Regions from separate parts of the Homo sapiens genome. Here region 1 is linked to region 2. The links are contacts of gene promoters, found by promoter capture Hi-C in human tissues and cell types (Jung and others, 2019). All regions are on one chromosome and are shown on one strand. Each heading gives the region's core, a stretch centred on a gene start or on the middle of the fragment in contact. The rest is flanking DNA. Distances are from core to core; before and after follow the strand shown.

What was found. The method cuts DNA at HindIII sites, captures the fragments that hold promoters and counts their contacts. A contact is called where the count stands out against the background at its distance.
Region 1: a fragment that was not itself captured here is called in contact with the fragment with the promoter of FGF4 in region 2 in 5 of the 25 tissues and cell types used here (heart left ventricle, mesenchymal stem cells, mesendoderm cells and 2 more).

What each region holds. Positions count from the first base shown.
Region 1 is chr11:69,859,395-69,866,452 of GRCh38, forward strand. No RefSeq gene overlaps it. Among named protein-coding and RNA genes, the nearest start is that of FGF3, 44 kb to the left of the region's middle. RefSeq lists enhancers at 5,363-5,920, 5,921-6,478, 6,479-7,036. The HindIII fragment of the contact is 5,190 bases long and covers 1-4,621 here.
Region 2 is chr11:69,773,618-69,780,474 of GRCh38, forward strand. FGF4 (fibroblast growth factor 4) reads right to left here and starts at 1,724. Exons shown (of 3, transcript NM_002007.4): 1 at 1,128-1,724; 2 at 407-510. The coding sequence starts at 1,467. RefSeq lists enhancers at 1-623, 2,473-3,396 and promoters at 1,613-2,725, 1,613-2,008. The HindIII fragment of the contact is 23,973 bases long and covers 1-6,857 here.

The DNA of each region.
Region 1 (7,058 bases), core at 777-3,276, 86 kb after region 2:
ATTAGCCCTCTGTAAAACGCACCAGTCAGCGCTCTGTAAAACTCACCAGTCAGCGCTCTGTAAAACACACCAATCAGTGCTCTGCAAAATGCACCAATCAGCAGGATTCTAAAAGTAGCCAATCACTGGGAGGACTGAAAAAAGGGCATTCTGATAGGACAGAAACAGAACATGGGCGGGGCCAATAGGGAAATAAAAGCTGGCCACCTCAGCCAGCAGGGGCAACTCACTCGGGTCCCCTTGGATGTGGTGGAAGCTTTGTCCTTTTGCTCTTCACAATAAACCTTGCTGCTACTTACTCTTTGGGTCCGGGACATCTTTAAGAGCTGTAGCACCCACCACGAAGGTCTGCTGCTTCATTCTTGAAGTCAGCGAGACCACGAACCCACCAGCGGGAACCAACTCTGGACACATTATGACTGTGATGACTTTGTTGTTCTAATGGTGATTTTCTATTTTCCAAATTCTTTCTACATTTATTAATTGGATTCTTTGGTAAGGAAGAGCTGTCGCTTCTTCTCATTTATCCCTTTACTCCCCAGTTCTAAGGTACCAGATCCATTTCTTCCCATGCAGCAGGGGAGGCTTTTGTATTATACGAACTTGCAGTTCTTGTCTTTTCTACAGACTGGCCCACGGGTCACCCACAGCGACACACCTTCAGGCTTCCTACACAAATCCTCCGATGTTCTCACGGTGTAAAAGCTGAGACTGTGATCACAAGTACAATTTTGTTTAATCTGAGAGAATGTTTTCTTCTTTAAAAAATATACACACAAGGGGATGGGGTAATACCAGGAAGAAAAAATAGCCACGTGTAGTTTTGGAGGAAAATGTGAGCTCTACCTCTGAGCTGGACTCCATGTTGCCCTCTGGAGAGGATCCTGTTTACAGTGCGTCTCTCCTGCTTCTGGCCCCACCCCGCTTCAAGTCTTGTTTGTTGGTCCTCGTGGTTAAATGACTGCAGAAATGCCCCTAATTATTTTCCTCCCCAACTCAACACTCCTGGTTGCAGCAATTCCTAGCAAGAGGCAAAGTCTATTTCCCTGTCCCTTGAATCAGGGTTGGTTTTGTAACTTGCTTTGGCCAAAAAAATGTGACTGCAGTGGCTGGGTGCAGTGGCTCATGCCTGTAATCACAGCACTTTGAGAGGCGGAGGAGGGAAGATTGCTTGAGTCCAAGAGTTCGAGACCAGCCTGGACAACACAGTGAAACCCTGTCTCTACAAAAAAACACAAAAAATTAGTTTGTGTTGCCATGGTAGCATGCACCTGCAGTCCCACCTACTCAGAAGGCTAAGGTGAGAGGATTGCTTGAGCTGGGAAGGCGAAGGTTGCAGTGAGCCATGATTACACCACTGCACTCCAGCCTGAGCAACAGAGAGAGACTCTGTCTCAAAAAAGAAAAAAAAAATAGAATTGTGGCAGCAGAGACCAGCCACCAATTCTGAGCCTAGGCCCTAAGAGGACCCAGGACTCTTACCAGGGGCTGGCCTGCTGGAGGAAGAGAGACAGTGGCCCAGTGGTCCACCGTGACTCCAGCTGAGAGCTGCCCAATCTTCAGGCATGGAAGTGAGGGCATCCTAAACCAGCCAGCCCACCTGCTGTCTGCAGACATACGATGAGTCCAGCCAAGATCCCCCGAGCTTCATCCAGATAAGCAGGACTGCCCGGCTGACCCCTGGGCTTGTGAATAGAAGAAGCACTCCTCATGTGAAGTCACCGAGTTTGGAGTGGTTTGCTGTGCAGTGATAACTACTTGGTACTGTCCTTCCTGAGCCACTCTCACTCTAAACCCAGATCCCGCAACACCTCCAGCAGATCCCCAGGACTCTTGGGATGCAGTGCACGGAGCATTCGCTTGGTCCAGCCCATTATAGGAGGGATGACACCAAGAGGGATCAGGTGACCTGCCCAAAGGGAGGCAGCAAGGTACAGGCATATTGTGGGGCTAGAACCCTGGACTCCAGCTTCCTAGTCGAGTGCTTTTTCCAGGACCCTTTCTGCTTTTACTTTGACAACTTCTTCCCCAGAGCTCAGCTCTCACTCCTCAGACCAAGTAGCTCCAAATCCTTGGGCTCACCTGCACAGACCCAAGGCTGACCTTGGCAATCCAGAACTCCTGCCCATCTGGGACAGGTGTCAAAAACGAGGGCTCCTCTTGCTTCACCTGGATAGTGGCCACCTCTACCTCTCTCTCATCTTTCTCCTGCAGGAAACGGCCGTGGTCCTGCCAGCCCCCGCTTTTGGAGGGGCCTCCGACACTCTGGGCAAACCTAGTTTCTGAGGACTCATTGCCCCAGAAGCATTGGCTAAGTGAAAGATTAATGAACAGAGGTTCATAGGATCTGGAAAGGCTTCTAACTGGAATGATCTGAAACTAAAAATTAATGACAATGGCAGCCGCAATGTAATAGCTGTGTGGTTTATTGAGGTCTTACTGCATCCCCGATGGAGCTGAGTGTGTCTCATGCTGTGTGTCATTTCATGCATGCAACAACTGTATGATACAACTACTATTATCCCTGTTTTACGGGGAAGAAACTCAGAGAAATGCAGAAATTGTCCATCATCACACTGGATCACCCCCTTGGAGAAGCTTCCCTGACCACCCTAGCAAGGACACAAGCCCCACCACTGCCTGCCCCTGAGCACTGGTCACATTGGACATCTCACCCACGCATTGGTTTACTGTCCGGCTTTCCCTTGTGGGACACACAGCCACATGAGCCCAGTCTGTCCCGCTCACAGCTGTATCCAAGGCCTGGAGCATGGCAACAGGCAAACAGAGACCCGTGGAGGGAATGGTCGGGGAATATTGGGGTTGTAAGAATGGCCCTCGTGGAGGGGAGCAAGGTGTCAATCAGCTGATGACATAGTGCATATTTGATGACCCCTTGGTGGGTGCAGGTTGCTGGGGACCTGGTGCTATCGAAGATTACAGATGGGCTGGCAGGGGCCCTTTCTCTCTTATGGAATCAAGCACGGCCCGCAAAGGTTGCTACTGAGCCGGCCTGCAGTGGCCCCGACCAAGCAGTGGCCCCGGCTGCAGCCAGGGCCTTTGGAAACCTCATCAAAATGAAGAGTGGCCTCGTGCGTGCTGACCGGGGGGCTGGTGGCCCACGGAGACGGCATTCCCAGAGACTACAAGGAGCCGGTGGCCCTTTCTTCAACCGCCAAACAACAGCCAATCTCGGCCCCACAAAGACGGGCGCATGAATCACTTCTGCAGAGACTGCATTTCCTTTGAGGGGCTGTCACTGGCACCGGGCGGTAAGAAAACATTTTGTCATGCACATCAGCTGCCTTTCTCTGGGCCTTGGGTGGCCCAGGGCCACTCCCCCACCCAAGGGGACGGCTGTCCCGGTCAGTGCTCATCCATCAAGCTCATAATGAGGTGGCAAATTGCTGTCTTGGAGAGACACTCAAAAGCCAACTACTTCAGCCTGTCCATGGAGGTGTCAACGGCCGGGCCCCAGGAGATAGCTCCCTCCAGGAGGCCTTCTATGGGGGCAGAGGTGGGAGTTTTACTGATCACTAAAGAAGTTGCAGCACCCACCAGCAACTCCCTGGTCCCCTGGGGGTCAGGCTGCCCTGGCCCCACTTACTGCCCATTGCAGCCAGAGGCTGACATCTGTCCCCACCCCTGGGATCCCCATAACCCTGAATCCTTGTTGGCTTCAGAGTCAGCTGAGAAGACCTCCTCTTCCTCCTCCCCCAAGTTCCAGGCCTCAGGGACAGCCAAGGAGAGCAGCAGCAGCGCCTTCCCTGGCCTTTGACCTGAAGACATCTATGATGATGATGATGATGGTGGTGGTGGTGGTGGCTACAGGGTGGGCAGCAGCTTCCTTCACTCATAACTGAGGCTTCCACACTCTATTAGCCCTCATGACCACCCAGGAGGGATGTAGACCTGTGCCCCCATTTCACAGATAAGAAAGGGAGAGGTCATGTGAGCTCCCCACATCACCGCACCAGTGGGAGAGCCAGCCCACTCCAGAGCCCAGGCAGCCGCACACTCGCTCTCAGACAACATCCACCCAGGCCACGAAGAGACCAGTGTCCCGCCAGACCACTCGCTCCCCAGCCCTGACCCTCGGGGACTCACTTCCCTGCTCGTCTGTGTGGTGTGACCGCCCACCTGTGTCCCCCAGCAGGTTCATTTGGGCTCTTTGCAGCTCTCTGTACGTGGGATCCCGCTGGATGTGCTCCTCTGTGGCCGCTCTGTGGCTTCTCTCCATCCAGGCCATTCGGGAAGGTCTATCTGAGCTGCCGCGTGGTTTGACACTTTACTAGGCCCACTGCTGTGTCATATGTCCCAGCATGGATGCTTCCAAGTCCACGGCCCTGTCATTTCTCAAGGCCAGGAAGGGCTCCCAGCTCTGAGGCCCAGGCACTGGTGAGCACCTGCTGCAGTTGGGCCTTCTGAGCCCCCAAGAGCCCCCTGAGGCTTCCTCCTTCCCCAGTGAGGTTTGGTGGGGTGGGGTGGGGCACAGAGAGGTGCAGCCACGGCAGGACAGCCTCTGGGACCCACCCAATGCAGCGCCCTGCCTTTGCACACGCGGAAACCCTTTGGCCCTCAAAGAAGCAGCTTCCATCCTGGCTCCCTCCGGCTTCCAGGCCCTCACTGCGGCTTTGGACCTGGGTTCACAGGGCAGGTGGGTGCAGAGGGCCTCCCGCCACCTGCAGAGCCACAAGTAGCCGCACACGGCCGGGGCCTCAAGTGTCCACCTTGATTTAGGTCAATGCTGCCTTCTTTCCCCCACCCCTCCTTTCATCCCACCACCCCCTTAAATGGTGGGCCAGGCTATGGTGCCCTGGAGGCCACTGTTCCTTTTGCTCCAAGTTTTCAGCTCTGTGGGCTGTGGGGCAGGTGACTCAGGCCAAGCAGATGCGTTGCATCCTGCTGGGAAAACTCGATTTTGTAGACATTTGCCAGGATTGCCACTGAACATTTGGGGGGGTGGGGTGGGTGCAGTGGGGGACAGAAATGGCAGGAGTAGGGGCCGTGCAGTGGCCAGGCTGTGGGGGAGGAAAGGCAGGGAGCACGGTGGCCTCTGCCACCTCTAGGAATGGGCAGAGAGCCCCAGGGAGGCCCCTTTGACCTGCAGTGTGACCTCGGGAAGGCCCCTCCGCATCTCTGGTCTTGGGTGAAATCATTGAAAATACAAGGAAATAGAGAGAAGGCCATGCTAGGTGCGTTCTGAGGGCTGGAGGTGCCGTGGGACCCATCCACGTGGTCTCTCCTTCCCTGAGCTCACACCACAGGGAGGGAGGGAACCAGTGCCCAGTCTGGTTTCTGGGGAGGGGAGAAGCGAGAGGAAGAAAGTAAAGCAGAGGTGAGCAGGAGGCAGCTGGAGCAGCGTAGGAGGGGGACGTGGAAGCAGCGTTAGGGCGGGAGGGTGACCTCTGAGCAGAGGGTGGAGAAGAGCCCAGCCATGCCCGGGAGTGGGGATGCAGGAGAGACTGTAGGCAGAGGCAGCTGCTGGAGGTGAAGCCCAGGGCTGGCTGGGCACCTTCCCATGGTGGAGACCGAGCTCGTGCCCAGCACAGAATGGTGGATGGGGTGATGGGGGGAGGCTCAGCCAGGAGGGTCCCTGGGACTGCAGAGGCAGCCGCTGGGGCATGGATGTGAGTGGGTGGCGGGTGCACAGGGACTGAAAAGAGCCTGGCCTTTGGGGGTCAGAGCCCCGGGTTGGCATCCGTTTCCTCTCTCACTGGGGTGGAGATACTGGCAAGGACGGGGTGATGGCCTGAGCTCTGGACATCAGGAGCAAGGTGCTGTCAGCCCAGAGAGGGGTGGCTTCCTACTCACGGTCACACAGCCGGTGAGTCACAAAGCTGGGTTCTCAGCCCCTCTCTTTGGCTTGGGCCCAGTCATGAGACAGCTGTGGGAGCCCCGCATACAACAGGCTCCCGTGGAGGGAGAACCCAAGGCACCCGACAAGGTGGGCGTATTGAAGAGAAGAAACCAGGGGCCAGAACCGACTCAAGCCTCCGTCCTGAGAGCAGCACCCTGGAGTGGAATCCCACGGGCCTGCAAGAGACAAGCCGGGCCGTGCTTCCTGCCAGCACCTGGCCTGCTGCAGCCCACCTTTCTGTCCACCTGCGGGGCTCGACTCCACCACAGCCACCTCCTCCAGGAAGTCTGCCCAGATCCCCCCTCCCCTGCTGGTGTCCCAGTAAGCTCCTGCTGTTTACCTGCCCATCTCCCCTGCTGGCCCACAACTCTCGGTGTTTTATCTCCATTTCCCTTTGGCTGCACCCAGGAGATGTGACTTCGAACTAAGTAAGTGGATGTGTGGAAGGCGGGGGTGTCACAAAAGGGCTCACCCCAGGATCCCTGAGGTCAACCCTGACCCCCTGATTCTTATGTTTACCATGAGAACTGACCCCTGAAAACTCTATTTCCTAGACATTTGCCAGGACTGCCACTGAGCATGCAATGGCGGGTGGGGGCGGAGGTGCAGCAGGAGAAATGGCAGGAGTAGGGGCTTGCAGTGGCCAGGCTGTGGGGGAGGAAAAGCATGGAGCACGGTGGCCTCTGGCACCTCTGGGAACAGGCAATGCCCCAGGGAGGCCCCTCACCCCATGCTCACAATTCCATCTGCAGCTCAAAGGCTCAACGCATCATGTGATCACAAGCTTGACCTCCTCCTCTTTGTGCCTCAGTTTCTCCATCTGGAAAAACGGGTAGCTTTTGCCAGTCTTTCCGAGCTTCAGAATTCCAAGGGCAGAATTTCAGAAAGATGGCCACCAGAGGCTCCTTGGGGCCTACATATGTCCTTGTGCTTCTTTAGCTTAACATTCTGACAGTTCTCAAACTCCTCTGCTCACTTAAAGGGCCTTTCTGGAGTGTGTCGTGGTCTATCAGCTTTTTTCCACCCTTAGTGGAGTATAAAATAATGTTGTATCTTACAACAATTGGTGATACCTTATATTCTATAAAATATGGTGATGCCAACCGTTTCCCATTTCTAATAGTGCCTTATCTTCATTTAATCCTAGCAACAACCCCAGGAGGTAGTTACTATTATTATCCCATTTTACAGAGAAGGA
Region 2 (6,857 bases), core at 474-2,973:
GTGTCAAGACCCACACAGGGTGAGAAGGGGACATGGCCAGCCCACAACAGCTGGTGCTCTCACCACCTGCCCTGCACCTAGCAGCCAGAGAATTCATTCCCTCCGTGTCCAGCCTCAAGCCCGCAGTTCCAACACTGAGACCTACCCCTCTGGACTAGAGAAGGGAAGGGCTCTCAATAGCGCCCTTTCCTCGGTCTGGGAGGGGCCCACTCAGGGATGGCAGGAACCTCATTGTTCCTGCCTTGGGGCTGCTTCCTTTGTCTGGGGAGGCCTGCCGGTCCCGTGACCTGGTGACCCTGCCACCCCTCCAAGACCCAGGCACAGGTGGGGCTGGAGAAGCCACGAGCCTGCTAGCCATGTCCGCTGTTCCCAACTAGGTGCCTAGCCAGACCCCTGCGGTACTCACCGAGCCATAGAGCTTGCCCTTGCTGCTCATGGCCACGAAGAACCGGCTGGCCACGCCGAAGATGCTCACCACGCCCCGCTCCACGGGCGAGAGCTCCAGCAGGCCTGGGGGCGGGGCGCAGGTCATTGCGGGGCAGGTGATCCCTGGCCCACTCCGCCCCTCGGCTTGTTCGCCTCCGGGGACCCTATTTCTGGGGTGGGGTTGGGGATAAAGGGCCAGGGTTCCCGGCGCAGCCGCCCCCAAGGGCCTCCAGAGCCCAAGCTGCCCTCTAGGGCCTCCGGAGCCCAAGCCTGCGCTAGCTCAGATTAGCTTGCCTGTGTAGGGGACCCCCGGCGGCCGCACCCAGTCCCGGACCTTCAGACGCGAGCCCGACCCCAGCGGTTCCCCAGCCTGGGCCAGGCCGGGGCGCGTGTCTCGGGCCCCCTGTGGCTGCACCGCGCGCCCTGTGCCCACGGGCGAAGGCGCTGGAATTCGGCGCTCGGAGCCCGAGTTTCTGAAGGCGGGAGGCGGCGCCCGACCTCAGGGGTTGCGCTGGGCTGCCGGAGCCAAGAGTGTCTGCGTCCCCAGCCCCGCGTCAGAAGGGACCGGAGCCCGAGTCCGCCCCGGTTCCCGGGGCCCCCGAGCAGGTGCCCGCCGAGGGTCTCAGAGTGTGACTGAGCGGGTTGGCCCGGCGGCCGTTGCCCCCCGCCCCCGCCCCTTCGCGCCTGGCCGCGCCACTCACTGTCGCGGGTGTCCGCGTGCGCGCCGCCGATGCGGCCGTCGGGGAGCGCCTGGAGGTGGAAGCCGATGCCCACGTTGCAGTAGAGCCGCCGCAGCCGCTTGATGCCCAGCAGGTAGTCGCCGGCGCCGCTCTGGACGGCCGCCTCCTTGGGCTGCGCTGCCACCGGCAGGCGCGCCAACGAGAGCGCCACCAGGCTCTCCCAGCGGCGCTCCAGCTCGGCCTCCAGCGTGCCGTTGGGTGCAGTGGGTGCGGCGGCGCCCCCTCGGCCCGCCCAGGGCGCCAGCAAGGCCAGCAGGACCGCCGGGAGCAGCGCTACCGCGGCCGTCCCGGGCCCCGACATCCCGGCCCGAGGGCCGTGCGTCGGTCAGGCGGTCAGTGCGCCCGGGAAGCTGGGGGGCAGAGCTGCGCCTGTGGCGTCCCGCGGGAGCGCACGGCCGACCTCGGGCAGGAGTGCGCAACCGAGGAGGTGCGGGAGGCAAGCGACGGGGCCCCCGGGCGCCGGGCTCTACCCCGGCTGCATGGAGCGGCGAGCCGGGCGGAAAGCGCGCGGCTGGAGCTGGGACTCTGAGGAGCAGTGCGCGCCTCCCTGAGCGCCAGGCCCGCCCGAGGCCGAGCCGCTATATATATAGCCCGGCGCCCCCTCCTACTCGCCCGCTCCCGCGGGGGGCCGTTCGCGTTCTCCTGGGCGCCCGGGGCGCTGTGGCGTTCGCGGCTGGTCGCAGGCCGCCTGCCAATCAGGGCCGGGGGAAGGGAGGAGGCTGGGGACTAGCGCCGCGAGTGCCACCTGGAGGGACCCCGGCCCCCACCCTTGGCTCCGCCCGGCCCACGGACCTGTTCGTCCCGCCCCTTGGCGGCTCCTACACTTCTGCTTTTCAGCCAGTTTTGCCTCTTGCACTTTGTCCCTGCCTGTCCCCGTCCCCGTCTCCCTCTCTGCTCCGGCCGCCTTGGCGCAGCCCTAACTCGGGCATCCGAAGCTCCTAGTGGGCGCAGAAGCCAGCGGCTGCTGCCTGCCCTTCGCCTTTCGGAGGCTCACGGGAACTTGGTTCCTTTGCTGGGGCCTTGAGGACCGGCCTGGGAAGGAGGGGTGGATAAGAGCAGTAAGCGACACCGGGGCCTGGCTGGGCAAGGGAGGACCCTTTGGCTACAGGCGGGAGGGAGGCCACCCCCACCCCCTAGGTCTTGGCCCCACAGGCTTGGCGCGTTTCTGGGCTGGAGTTCTGAATACCTGGTGGAGGTCCACCTGAGCCAAAGGGCAAGGTGGCAGAGATGCACCCAGGGAGGCCTGGTCCTGCACCCCCTACACACACACCCTTCCGTGAAAGGACAGGTAGCAGGGCATAGGGCCAGAGGGGATATTCAGCATCCCCTGCTCCTTTGATTCCACAGCAGAAATATCCATGTACCATAGCCAGAGCCCTCAATCTAGCAGGGACCCAGGCCAGGCCTCTGGAAGCCTCCCCTCTCTCACTCATGGTTCTACCTCCCACTGTGCCCATTATGGCCTGATGGGGACTGTCCTAGCTAGATGCAGGCCCACCTAGGTGTGAAAACCCCTGTTCTTTGTGGTCCCTGAGGAGCCTGCCTGGCCCTTCCTGCAGGCCCGCCTAGCCACAGCTGCAGGGGGCTTGGTGCCTACCCCATCTCTCATACCACCAGCACCTGTGACCAGAGATGTCCCCAGGCCACCGCAGCCTCCTCCACCTCCACCGCATCCCCACAGGGAGATTCCTGGGACCCCTTCAGAACCCTGCTGGGGCTTATTCGTGCCCCTGGAGGGGACCTGGGAGGCTTGAGGGCTCTTCTCTGAGGTGCAGAAAGGGGGGCACTTGGGGGTCATCAAGTGGCTTTGGCAGGACCGGAACCTCAGCTCCGCACCCCTTGAGAGGATCTTTGTTCCTCCTTGGGCCTGCAGCCTGCTTGGGCAGCGCCACCCAGACCTGGACCTTCCTGGGCTGCAGCTCACAGCTTCGAGATGCAACCCGGCTGCCTCTGGGTCCTGGGGTCCCCCAGATGAGCCTGCAGATCTGGTGCCAAATAGACATCGTTGGCCAGGGTGCAGGGTGCAGGGTGCAGGGGACCTAGAACCCATCCCTCACTTGCTGTGTTGTCTTTCCATCTCTAGGTCCCTGACTCCCCATTTGCAAAATGACATGGGAGGTGGGCTTTCCTCCCTCAGCCTGGGGCCAACCGAACACACCCTCTGGGGAAGTGAGACCCAGGCCTGGAGACCCACCTGTGCCAGCTGACCTGAGCAGAGGGACTCTGATGTCTTCCCCCGGCTTTTGATAGGATGAGGCTCCTTTCTTCCCAGGACTCCCACAGCAAGCTCAATTTAGGGCTTCCCAAGGACCCCTCCCTGTCTCTCCTATTTGCTGTGAGTTCAGCAAAGGACGCTGCAGGCAGCTGATATATCTCCCAGAACTGCAGGCCCACCCACACAGGATAGGTGCTTGTGGTGACTGGGGACTGACAGCCAGCAGGGCTTTTGGGAGCTGGGAATTCCCAGCAGAACTGATCTGGAATCTGGCTTCCACTTTGCTCCGGGTGCTCCCTGAGCACACTCTCAACCTCCGCAGGCCCTGGCCTCCTCAGCTGTGCAATGGAGGCAACAAAAGCACAGGTAAGGAAGAATTGCGGATGAAGGATGCACCAGGAAGCACTCACTTATCTGCATCTGACCCCTTTCCGTGCCCCTGGCCCTTGACCTGGCTTCCCACCTGCTTCCTTTCTGCTCCTGTGTTCCCGCCATGCTGACCGCGTCATCTCTCCCCTTCCCACTGGATGACCCCCGGCCCCAGATCTTCCTGCCAATGACTTATCCCATTCAGGTTTGCCTGAATGGAGAAGCCACTCCATTGGAGTAGCCACTCGGGGATGCCTTCTGGATCCCCTGCCCAGTCCTTCTGGTTGGAGCTTCTTTGAGCTCTTAAGAGAACCTTCTGCACTTGTTAGCTGACCCTCCACCGCATTTAGATTGTCATCTCCATGGAGCAAGCCCGGATTTGTGTTGTTGCCAGTTGTACCTCCAGTGCTGGGCACATAGTAGGTGCTCAATAGCTGTTTGTGAGTAAATGGCTGGCTAGGTACACTAGGAGCTCATCCATCAGCAATCCTCACTGCAAGCTGCCCTGCCCAATCTGCCACTGTGCCCCGGGGCAGACAAACAGAGGTACCTGCAAAGGCCTCAGGCAGAGCTGCCCCTATGGGAAGGTCTGCATTGCCTTTTTTTTTCTTTATGTGAAAGAAATAGTTGGACCAAGGTGACTAAATCTTTTCCAGATCTGGTTACTTCTCAGCAGAGAGACAAGGGGACCTATATATAATTTTTTTTTTTTTTTTGAGATAGTATCTTGCTCCATTGCCCAGGCTAAAGTGCAGTGGCTCTATCATAGCTCTACAGCCTCAAACTTCCAGGCTTAAGCAATCCTCCAGCCTCAGTCTCCTGAGTAGCTGGGACTACACACTCAGCTAATTTTTTGTTTTCTTTTTTAGTAGAGACGAGGTCTCGCTGTATTGCCCGGGCTGGACTCAAACTTTTGACCTCAAGCAATCCTCCCGCCTCAGCCTCCCAAAGTGCTGGGATTACAGGCATGAGCCACTGCACCTGGCCAGGTGATCTAGAAACAGGACCCTCACTTAGCTTGGACCCAAAGCCCTTCTGCCATGCTTTACCCCAGGACGCCCGCTTTGCCAAGTCCTGGGGTTCGAGGAAGGCTTGGGGCCATGTTGGGCTTCCGGTTGGGTTCAAGTTTAGGCTGTCTCCCTGTTAGTTGTATAACCTTACGCTATTTCACTTCTTAGCATTCTCAGTTTCCCCATCTGTAAAATGGGCATGAGCTGATGTCGGCCTTAGCAAGACAGTGCCTGACCTCAGGAAGAGGCTGAGCAAAGTGAGCTGTTTAGACTGCAAGCCCCTTGGGGGTGGTTCAAACTGGGTCTGATTAACAGTAAATGCTGGGAATTTGTGAAATAAACAAAGCCATGTCATTATCGGGTGGAAGTCTCCCTGTACGTCATCAGCCACTGGAGGGGTAATAAATTGAGGGAGAGGAGCAAAGGCCCAGAAAGCCTCCTAACAGTGACCTTTTTCGACCTCCAAAAAAAAAAAAACAACAATGTAGGATCTTCATGTGAATGGTCCCGTCTCCCGTGAAGGAGTGAAGAGGCTTCTCAGAGCCACCAGCTCAGGTGTTAGCTGTTAAGAACTTACTTGGCTTAATAGTAATAATAATAAAAAAGAAAGTGCTGCATAATAGTCCACTTATAGTCCTCAGGGCAAAATGACTGAGCTCAGCCCGGGGCAAGGGCCCAGGCTGTGTAAACTTTGTAAATAGCTCAACTGCTTTCTCAATTCAACTTCCCTTTCTTGGCTTCAGCAAGACACCCTCACAATGATGTCTTTCTGCAAAAGTCCAGGAGGATGATAAGGCCGGTGGGATAGACTGGTCTACACTGAGCCGAAGCACCCCAAAGCAAGTGGCATGTTTTTCTTTAGGACCTTCAGAATAAGGGGAGATTGAGCCAATTTTTTTTTTTAGCTTTTTAAAAAATGGTGTTAATTGGGTGCGGTGGCTCACCCCTGTAATCCCAGCACTTTGGGAGGCCGAGGCAGGCAGATCACTTGAGGTCAGGAGTTCGAGACCAGCCTGGCCAACATTGTGAAACCCCATTTCTACTAAAAATACAAAATTAGCTGGGCGTAGTGGTGCATGCCTGTAATCCCAGCTACTCAGGAGGCTGAGGCAGGAGAATCGCTTGAACCTGGGAGGTGGAGGTTGCAGTGAGCTGAGATCGCGCCAGTGCACTCCAGCCTGGGCGCTACAGAGCGAGTCTCCGTCTCAAAAAAGAAAAAAAAAGGTGGTAAAATATACATGATACATAACATAAAATTGATGTTAACCTATTTTTTTTTTGAGGTGGAGTCTTGCTCTGTCACCCAGGCTGGAGTGCAGTGGCGCGATCGTGGCTCACTGCAAGCTCCGCCTCCCAGGTTCACGCCATTCTCCTGCCTCAGCCTCCTGAGTAGCTGGGACTACAAGCGCCCGCCACCACGCCCGGCTAATTTTTTTTTTTTTTTTGTATTTTTAGTAGAGATGGGGTTTTACCGTGTTAGCCAGGATGGTCTCGGTCTCCTGACCTCGTGATCCACCCACCTCGGCCTCCCAAAGTGCTAGGATTACAGGCATGAGCCACCGTGTCTGGCCTGATGTTAACTATTTTTTAAAAGACTTTTTTCAGAGCAGTTTTAAGTTCACAGCAAAATGGAGAGGAAGGTACAGAGAGTTCCCTTACACCCTCTGTCCCCACACACTCACAGCCTCTCTCATTTTAGCCATTGTTAAGTGCACGGGTAAGTGGCATTAAGGACACTCACATTCTAGTGCAACCATCACCACCATCCATCTCCAGATGGTTTTCATCTTCCCAAACTGAAACTCCCTGCCCATTAAACACTTGCTCCCCATTCGGCTCCCCCAGCCCCGGCACCCACCATCTTCGCTTTCTGTGTCTACGAATTTGACTACTTAGGGACCTCATGAGTGGAATCACACAATGTTTGTCCTTTTTGTATCTGGCTGATTTCACTTAGCATAACATCATCAAGATTCATCCACGATGTAGCATGTGTGGGAGTTTGCTTTCTTTTTTTCTTTTTTAGAGGCTGAATAATATTCCAGGTATGGATGGGCCACGTTTTATTTATTTACTTATCTGTCAGCGGTCCCTGAG